3 separate regions of the Homo sapiens genome follow, and regions 2 and 3 are each linked to region 1. Evidence: promoter capture Hi-C in human tissues and cell types (Jung and others, 2019). All regions are on one chromosome and are shown on one strand. The core of a region is centred on a gene start or on the middle of the fragment in contact, and the rest is flanking DNA. Distances in the headings are between cores, read along the strand shown. Region 1 holds the start of ELAVL2 (ELAV like RNA binding protein 2). Region 2 overlaps LOC105375993 (a long non-coding RNA gene). Region 3 overlaps ELAVL2 (ELAV like RNA binding protein 2).

The links. The method cuts DNA at HindIII sites, captures the fragments that hold promoters and counts their contacts. A contact is called where the count stands out against the background at its distance.
Region 2: a fragment that was not itself captured here is called in contact with the fragment with the promoter of ELAVL2 in region 1 in 1 of the 25 tissues and cell types used here (mesenchymal stem cells).
Region 3: a contact is called between a fragment that was not itself captured here and the fragment with the promoter of ELAVL2 in region 1, in 1 of the 25 tissues and cell types used here (pancreas).

What each region holds. Positions count from the first base shown.
Region 1 is chr9:23,824,821-23,827,583 of GRCh38, reverse strand. It overlaps ELAVL2 (ELAV like RNA binding protein 2), which reads left to right and starts at 1,344. Exons shown (of 7, transcript NM_004432.5): 1 at 1,344-1,778. It overlaps LOC105375992 (a long non-coding RNA gene), which reads right to left and starts at 1,156. Exons shown (of 3, transcript XR_929519.3): 1 at 1,067-1,156. The HindIII fragment of the contact is 12,029 bases long and covers 1-2,763 here.
Region 2 is chr9:23,864,626-23,867,388 of GRCh38, reverse strand. All of the region lies in intron 2 of LOC105375993 (a long non-coding RNA gene), which reads right to left. Among named protein-coding and RNA genes, the nearest start is that of ELAVL2, 40 kb to the right of the region's middle. The HindIII fragment of the contact is 9,543 bases long and covers 1-2,763 here.
Region 3 is chr9:23,788,533-23,791,295 of GRCh38, reverse strand. The region is part of intron 1 of ELAVL2 (ELAV like RNA binding protein 2); the gene reads left to right. Among named protein-coding and RNA genes, the nearest start is that of ELAVL2, 36 kb to the left of the region's middle. The HindIII fragment of the contact is 3,613 bases long and covers 1-2,763 here.

The DNA of each region.
Region 1 (2,763 bases), core at 95-2,594:
TTAAGACACATTACATGTGTAATGTAATGTGTACATTACATTTACACATTCTGGTAAGAATGGTAAAAACTGTCTAGGAAGTTGGTGCTATCTTTCAAGATTGAAAAGAGAAATGCTGGCTGGAAAAGAACGTAGGTCAAATGAATATTGTGTCTACTTATACATCCAGACGATCCTGAGGACCTCACTTTCACTTAGAGGAAGAAACAATTATCATGCATAAAACTGTATTTTGGTCTCCTGAATGCTGTTAAAATATGGGGTTGTAATAAAGTAGTCTTCCTCTATGAAGCAGAAGCATTGATAGCACTTGGTCTTCTGGTTAAACTTCTTAAATCCTCACAGAAAGAGCCCTGATAAAGGTTCAACTATCTTTGCTGTCAGCAATACATGTGTGGTCCAAGGACTGTACCTGTCTGCAAATGCAGAGGAGTGGCTTGTTCCAGTTTTATATACAGCTGCTCTTTTTGAGAATCATTAGACACCTCGAAGTGAAGGACCTTAGCTCTACTCAATACCTCTTTTTCTGGATAGGATATTTATCCTACACTTTTCTATTCTAACATGAAGTGAAAGCCAATTCAAACCGTGCAGCTTTATTTGAGAGCATTTCTGACTTCATCTTTATCTTAAAAGGATGCTTTAAAAAGGGGTTCATGGGGACACATAAATCTGAAATATGCGTATATTAAAATAAAGACATACAATTACCTAACATCTAATACAAAATACAGTACTGAACACAAATCGAAAAAAGGCATGCGGGCAAATAATGGATGTACATTCATCCCTTTCACTCAGATCAAAGAGAGGGAGCTCTCAATGACTCATACATACCGGACAGAGTTAAATGTTATAAAGAAATATGCCACAGATGCAGCAGTGATGGCAAAGGAAATGAATCTTTCTGAAGCAGAAAGATTTAAGAGGAAAGGAGATCGTGCCATATCGCAAACTCTGATAGTACAGTTCCAACCCTCCCACGTTGCTCTCTCCACATTTCTTTTTGCTTCTTGCATTTCCCTTCGCCGCCAGTGTTAAGAGTGTACCTCCCCGCACAACTTACCTTGAAACGGGACTCCATTGAGCTCTCGAGAGTGACACAAGCCCATAGCCAATCGTCTCACGCGGCCCCGCCTGGGCGGCCTCAATGGAAGCGTGTGGACCAATCAGGATCCTGGGGCGATGAGCAAGTTACGTTGTGGCGCGATTCGGCGTATACTTCCGCGCGTGCTGCCCGGGATAGGAGCCTGGCAGAGCAGCTGCACACACGGCAGTGCGGAGGCAGAGAAGGGGTTGGTGATACGGTGCTATAAATCTGTGGTCCAGTCCACCTCCCTTTTAAGACGTCCTCCCCCCTATTTCTGTTCTTAGTTAGAGATGCAGCAGCTTACTCCTGTAGCGACCTACTAAAAAGCAACAAGGAGAAAGACATCGTCTTTTTGAAAAAACGTTCTTTCGTCTCTTTTCTTTGTTCCTTGGTTTGTTTTTCTTGCCCCTTTTTGTTTAGTTGAACGGCAATAGGAGGGTAGTCTCTCCGTCTTTTTAAACTCTTTTTTAAGTTTCCCCTCCCCTTTCATATTTTTTTTCGCCATTTCTTTTAGCATTGGACTTTGGGGTCGAAAGCGTTTCTTTTTATTTGCTTCTTTTAAGCCGAGCACAGTTTAGGTTTCGTGCTGTCTTAAGAGAACTATCCAGCAGCTTCTTGCTCATCCTTATTGGGAGAACTGCACCGTTACTTTAAAAACACACATACACAAAAACCTTAAGGGAGAAAGGTAAGTTTCGGTTTGGTTTCTTTAATCATTAGTTGCAGCGATGCGCTGGCAAACCCAGAAAACCTGTAAGTGAGCGGAATACAGAATATGAAGTTAATTGCACATGTTTGTCTCATTTCAAAGCTACTGTTCTGCTTTTTTAATTTTAAAGAGCTAGACTAAAAGACGGTGGACGCATGCTTAGCGTACTGAATATTCGTAAATGTCCATGGCAGAAACTTAAGTGGTAAATGTGGCCAGGGGGGAGTAGGGGTACAATGGGAGGTTAGATGTGGAGTGAGCTTCAAGATTGAGATCGGAAGTTCATTTCGTGGGGAGAGAGTGATAACTTGGGTGTTGGGGATGCATGCCTCTACTTTGGCTCAGCAACGGAAGGACGGGAGAGGCTTTACAATCATTAAGGGGAATCAGAAGCCTGGACTGGCAGATTAGACCAGCGAAAACCACAGGCTTAATTGCATTAACCAGATAGCATGTGCTGGGGAGATGGGATTGCCAGATGGAATTTAGATGCTGCACCAGGCAGCGAGTTGTAGTTGACTGAAAAAAGTACATGCCGCCTGAGGGCTGGGGCTGGGGCTGGGCTGAGGCTAGGGTTGTTAGAAGCTGTCAGAACTCATCATTGTATGCGGGCTCTGATTCACGGACTCCAATTATCATAATTCAGTTTTAAAAGAAGATAGCCAATTTGGGGCTGAATTCTTAAGCCTGTACCGGATATGAGATTCCCTTTGTTCAGAAAAGCGTAAATAAGATCCTTGGAGCTGTGTCTATGAAGTGCCGGCTGCTTGGGAGCCTCGCTGTGCTGGGCGCTGGGAAGTGGATTCCAAGCCCTGTCCTTGGTCCTACGCGGCTGACTTCGCCTTCGGGGAGAGGGGGAACCCCTCTGCAGCCGCGAGGCTTCGCAGCCACCCCAGGAGCCAACTCGGCCACGTAGCCCTCACCCCCTCCTTACCGCCCCCACTTCCTCGAATAGCTATTGTTA
Region 2 (2,763 bases), core at 69-2,568, 40 kb before region 1:
AAGGCAAGGAAACAGATTCTTCTCTATTGTTAACAGAAGACTCTTAGCCTAGTAAGACCAAATTTGAATTTCTGGCCTTCAAAACTTTGTGTTGCTGAATTGTATTGTTTTAAGCCAGAAAGTTTATGGTAGTTTGTTAGATCAGCAATAGACAATACAGTAAAGGTTAAAACGAGGCACAGTGTTCCTCCTTGGACCATGTTTCTGGATGTGCATAAATACAGGGTATCGCTTAGGAAAAACTTAAAGTTGCTGTCTTGGGCCACTTGTTCCCTGTCAACACCTTACTGCTCCTTCTGGGTAGCTTTGCTTCATAGAAACCACAGAATTCTATGGCAAGATGGCTGAATAGGAATAGTTCCAGTCTGCAGCTCCCAGCCATATCAATGCAGAAGGCAGGTGATTTCTGCAGTTCCAACTGAGGAACCCGGCTCATCTCATTGGGACTGGTTAGACAGTGAGTGTAGCCCACAGAGGGTAAGCCAAAGCAGGGTGGGGCATTGCCTCACCTGTGAAGCACAGGGGGTCAGGGAACTGGCTAGCCATGGGAAGCCATGAGGGACTGTGCCGTGAGGAATGGTGCATTCTGGCCCACATACTATACTTTCCCCATAGCCTTCACAACCCACAGACCAGGAGATTCCCTCAGGTGCCTACACCAACAGGGTACTGGGTTTCAAGGAAAAAATTGGGCGGCTGTTTGGGCAGACACTGAGCTAGCTGCAGGAGTTTTTTTTTCATACCCCAGTGGTGCCTGGAATGCCAATGACACAACCCTTCACTGCCATGCAGAGGGGGCTGAATACAGGGAACCAAGTGGTCTAGCTCAGCGGATCCCACCCCCATGGAGCCCAGCAAGCTAAGATCCACTGGCTTAAAATTCGTTTACCCAGCACAGCAGTCTAAAATTGACTGGAGATGCTGGAGCTTGATGGGGGTAAGGGTGTCCACCATTACTAAGGCTTGAGTAGGCAGTTTTCCCCTCACAGCGTAAACAAAGTCACTGGGAAGTTGAAACTGGGCTGAGCCCACCGCCGCTCTGCAAATCTGCTGTAGTCAGACTGCCTCTCTAGATTCCTCCTCTCTGGGCAGGGTATCTCTGACAGAAACGCAGCAGCCTCAGTCAGGGGCTTACAGATAAAACTCCCATCTCCCTGGGACAGAGCACCTGGGGGAACGGGCGGCTGTGGACGCAACTTTAGCAGACTTACATGTTCCTGCCTGCAGCTCTGAAGAGAGCAGCGGATCTTTCAGCAAAGCACTTGAGCTCTGCTAAGGGAGAGACTGCCCCCTCAAGTGGGTCCCTGACCCCCATGCCCCCTGACTGGGAGACACCTCCCAGCAGGGGTTGACAGACAACTCATATAGGAGAACTCTGGCTGGCATCTGGCAGGTGCCCCTCTGGGACAAAACTTCCCGAGGAAGGAACAGGCAGCAATCTTTGCTGTTCTGCAGCCTCCACTGGTGATACCCAGGCAAACGGGGTCTGAAGTGGACCTCCAGCAAACTCCAGCAGACCTACAGCAGAGGGGCGTGACTGTTAAAAGGAAAACCCACAGAAAGTGATATCATCAACATCAACGAAAAGGACGTCCACACAAAAACCCCATCCAAAGGTCACCAACATCAAAGACCAAAGGTAGATAAATTCACGAAGATGAGGAAAAACCAGTGCAAAAAGGCTGAAAATTCCAAAAACCAGACTGCCTCTTCTCCAAAGGATCACAATTTCTTGCCAGGAAGGGAACAAAACTGGATGGAGAATGAGTTTGATGAACTGACAGAAATAGGCTTCAGAAGGTGGGTAATAACAAACTCCTTTGAGCTAAAGCAGCTTGTTATAACCCAATGTAAGGAAGCTAAGCACCTTGATAAAAGGTTAGACTAATTGCTAACTAGAATAACCAGTTTAGAGAAGAACATAAATGACCTGATGGAGCTGAAAAAGAAAGCATGAGAACTTCGTGAAGCATACCCAAGTATCAATAGGCAAATCGATCAAGTGGAAGAAAGGATATCAGAGACTGTAGATTAAGTTAATGAAATAAAGCGTGAAGACAAGATTAGAGAAAAAAGAATAAAAACAATGAACAAAACCTCCAAGAAATATGGGACTATGTGAAAAGACCAAACCTGCGTTTGATTGGTGTACCTGAAAGTGATGGGGAGAATGGAACCAAGGTGGAAAACACTCTTCAGGATATTATCCAGGAGAATTTCCCCAACCCAGCAAAACAGGCCAACATTCAAATTCAGGAAATACAGAGAACACCACAAAGATACTCCTTGAGAACAGCAACCCCAAGACACATAATTGTCAGATTCACCAAGGTTGAAATGAAGGAAAAAATGTTAAGGGCAGCCAGAAAGAAAGGTCTGGTTACCCACAAAATGAAGCCCATCAGACTAACGGCGGATCTCTCTGCAGAAACCCTACAAGCCAGAAGTGAGTGGGGGCCAACATTCAACAATCTTAAAAAAATGAATTTTCAACCCAAAATTTCATATCCAGCCAAACTAATCTTCATAAGCAAAGGAGAAATAAAATCCTTTACAGACAAGCAAATGCTGAGAGATTTTGTCACCACCAGGCCTGCCTTACAAGAGCTCCTGAAGGAAGCACTAAATATGGAAAGGAAAAACCTGTTCCAGCCACTGCAAAAACGTGACAAATTGTAAAGACCATCAACACTATTAAAAAACTGCATCAACTAACAGGCAAAGTAACCAGCAAGCATCATAATGACAGGATCAAATTCACAC
Region 3 (2,763 bases), core at 138-2,637, 36 kb after region 1:
GAAATGCTTTCTCATCTTTACGATTGGTCAAGACTCCTTGCTCCCACCCCTGCGATTAGCATTTGCCGTTTTCAACCTGGAGATTTCTTTTCCATTTACCCTGTCTGTACAGTAGTTTGTGACCACCTCTGCCTTTTAAAGTTGAGTTTTGACAATTGATATACAATTGATTTCTTCTCTAACCTCTTCAGTTTTATAGTTTGACCTCTTGTTACAAACTGCTTTTAAAGGCACCATGCTTATGCTTTAAAAGCCACTTAAACAGAACATATATTTAGAAGACAGGATGTTTTTGCCACAGATGTCAAGAGGGTCTTGGCAGTGTTTTCACAGAATGTCTGCTGGTGTCTGTGCAGCTCTGAGACTCTAGGCACTCTGTACTTAGAGAACATGTAGAGGTTAAGTGTTCATCAGGAGACCTGCGATGTTTGTGTTGGAAATACTAAGAGATGTGAGGTTTAGGATGTTTTGTGTTGTGTTGCTCTGTGTGCTCGTCCAGAGCAGACATCCTCAAGTCAGAACTTAATGAGGTATGCGGAAAATCACCAGGGGAACCGTAATATATAAAACATAAAATTAAAGCTCTGGGATGAATGGCTAATGCCTAGTTACATTAGATAGTCAGTTTATAGTTATTTGCTCCAGCCTAATTTGGCTGTCTATTCAAGGTAATCAGCAGAGAGTCAAACCTTTAACTTTTTCTTGAGGGACTGCAGTGAGCCTTTTAGCTTTCTTTACGTTGAGCTTTATGGTGACAGATGAGATGAAGGATACTATTTCACTTCCTTCAAGTTTTTAGTGTGGCCTCATTATATTTGAAAGTGAATTCCCAGAGCAGCCGATATGCCTGTAACTAATCCTAAGTAGAAAATCTATTCCAAAGCAGAAAATATATTTTGGCTTTACCTGTGCAGTCACAGACTGGGAAAGCGGGTATTGGGGTGTCTAATAATGTGGATTTAAATGGTTTGGTTAGAATATCTACTCTCCTTTCATCCAACCAGGCATTTCCATATATTTTTGTATTCCCTCTCTTTTTTTCTACCACAGAAGTTTAATTTCAAGATTTTCTGTCTCATCTCTCTCTGGTATTCATTACACCTGTTACATCTGTTTTGTTTCCAGTACAAAACAGCACTCGGACCTGCCTCTTTTACATTGGTCCTCTAACCAAAGAATGATTTAGGAGAAAATTTGTCATTTGTTGAAAGGTTGTTTTTTTTTTTTCCCCTTTTTTACCATCAACCTGTCATTTTGTGTATCTTAATGGATTATTCAAGCATTTATAGCCCTTTGAAAACTTTGGTTTCAGGCATTAGAAATTAATGTAATTTAGGAACATGGTTACCCCTTACCTTACCTCTGAGTGTCCTACCTGTATACATTCAGGAAAGGGTTTAAAAAGCATAGAACACTTAAAAACTTCAAATATGTTTTCTCATTTATAAGTGACATTTAGTAAAGTCTTGAAAGATATAAGAAGCTAACTGTTTTGCAACCATACTGTTTTCCTCTGGGCTGTCTTTAAGAATGTTTATTTACTTTTCTGGGGAAGGGAGATATGTGATAGCTTGTATAATACGATACATTATTTAGGAAGCAATTTCTTGCCATTCAGATTGTGGGTTTCGGATCATTTAGCTAAAAGATTACCCTGCTGAGTGCGTGGAAATCATCTTAAGACAAAATAAGGTTTGTGAAAATGAAAGTTGAATAGGAAGTTGTGCAGATGACCAAGCTTTATCATTCAGCAGGTGTCAGATTTTAAGTTGTGTGGATTCTTTTGAGAAATAATTAAAAGTTTTACCGAATTGTATTACTATTTTGAACTGTTTCCTCAATACTATGCCTCAAGAATTCAGTTGAGGACACATATGCATTTTAATACGTAATTTTGTATGTAGCATAAATTTAATAAATCACTTAATATATAAATTCACTATTTGTGAAATGACGGTCACTTCAGTAGGGTTAGGGGACATACATTCCACCTTACCATTTAGGAAAACTTGCATTTCTTGTGGCTGCGTCTAGTGTCTGGGCACTGGCCTAGACTGATATAGAGGGTCACTGACCCTCTGTATAGGGACTGAATAAGCAGTCCCTCTATATAGGGACTAATAGGAACTGAATAAGCAGGCCAAACTTCTATTCCCCATTTACTGAGTCTTTAACAAGGCCATCTAAAGTTGTAATGGTAAGAAGGAAAAAATTGGGGGACTATATTCTTACACTGCCCTCTATAAGAATACAGAAGCCGTTGGTCTCTTTTCTTTTGCTTGGATGGCAGTAGTTCCTCCTTACCCACAGTTTCGCTTTCCATGATTTCCGTTACCTGCAGTCAACTGTGGTTCACAAATATTAAATGGAAAATTCCAGGCATAAACAATTCACAAGTTTTACACTGCGTGTACTTCTGAATAGTGTGATGTACCCTCATGCTGACCAGTCAGGATGTGAATCCTCCCTTTGTCTAGTGTATCCATGCTGTTAGTCCCTTAGTATAGCCATCTCAGTTATAAGATTGACTTTCGAGGTATTGCACTGCTCGTGTTCAAGTAGCCCTTCTTTTACTTTCAGCGGCCCCAAAGCACAAGAGTAGTGATGCTGGCAGTTCTGACATGCCAAAGAGAGGATGTTAAAGTGCTCCATGTTCCCTTTAAGTAAAAAGGTGAAAGTTCTCGACTTAAAGAAAACTAAATACGCTGAGAGATCACATATACATAACTTTTATTACAGTGTACTGTTACAGCAGTTCTTAGT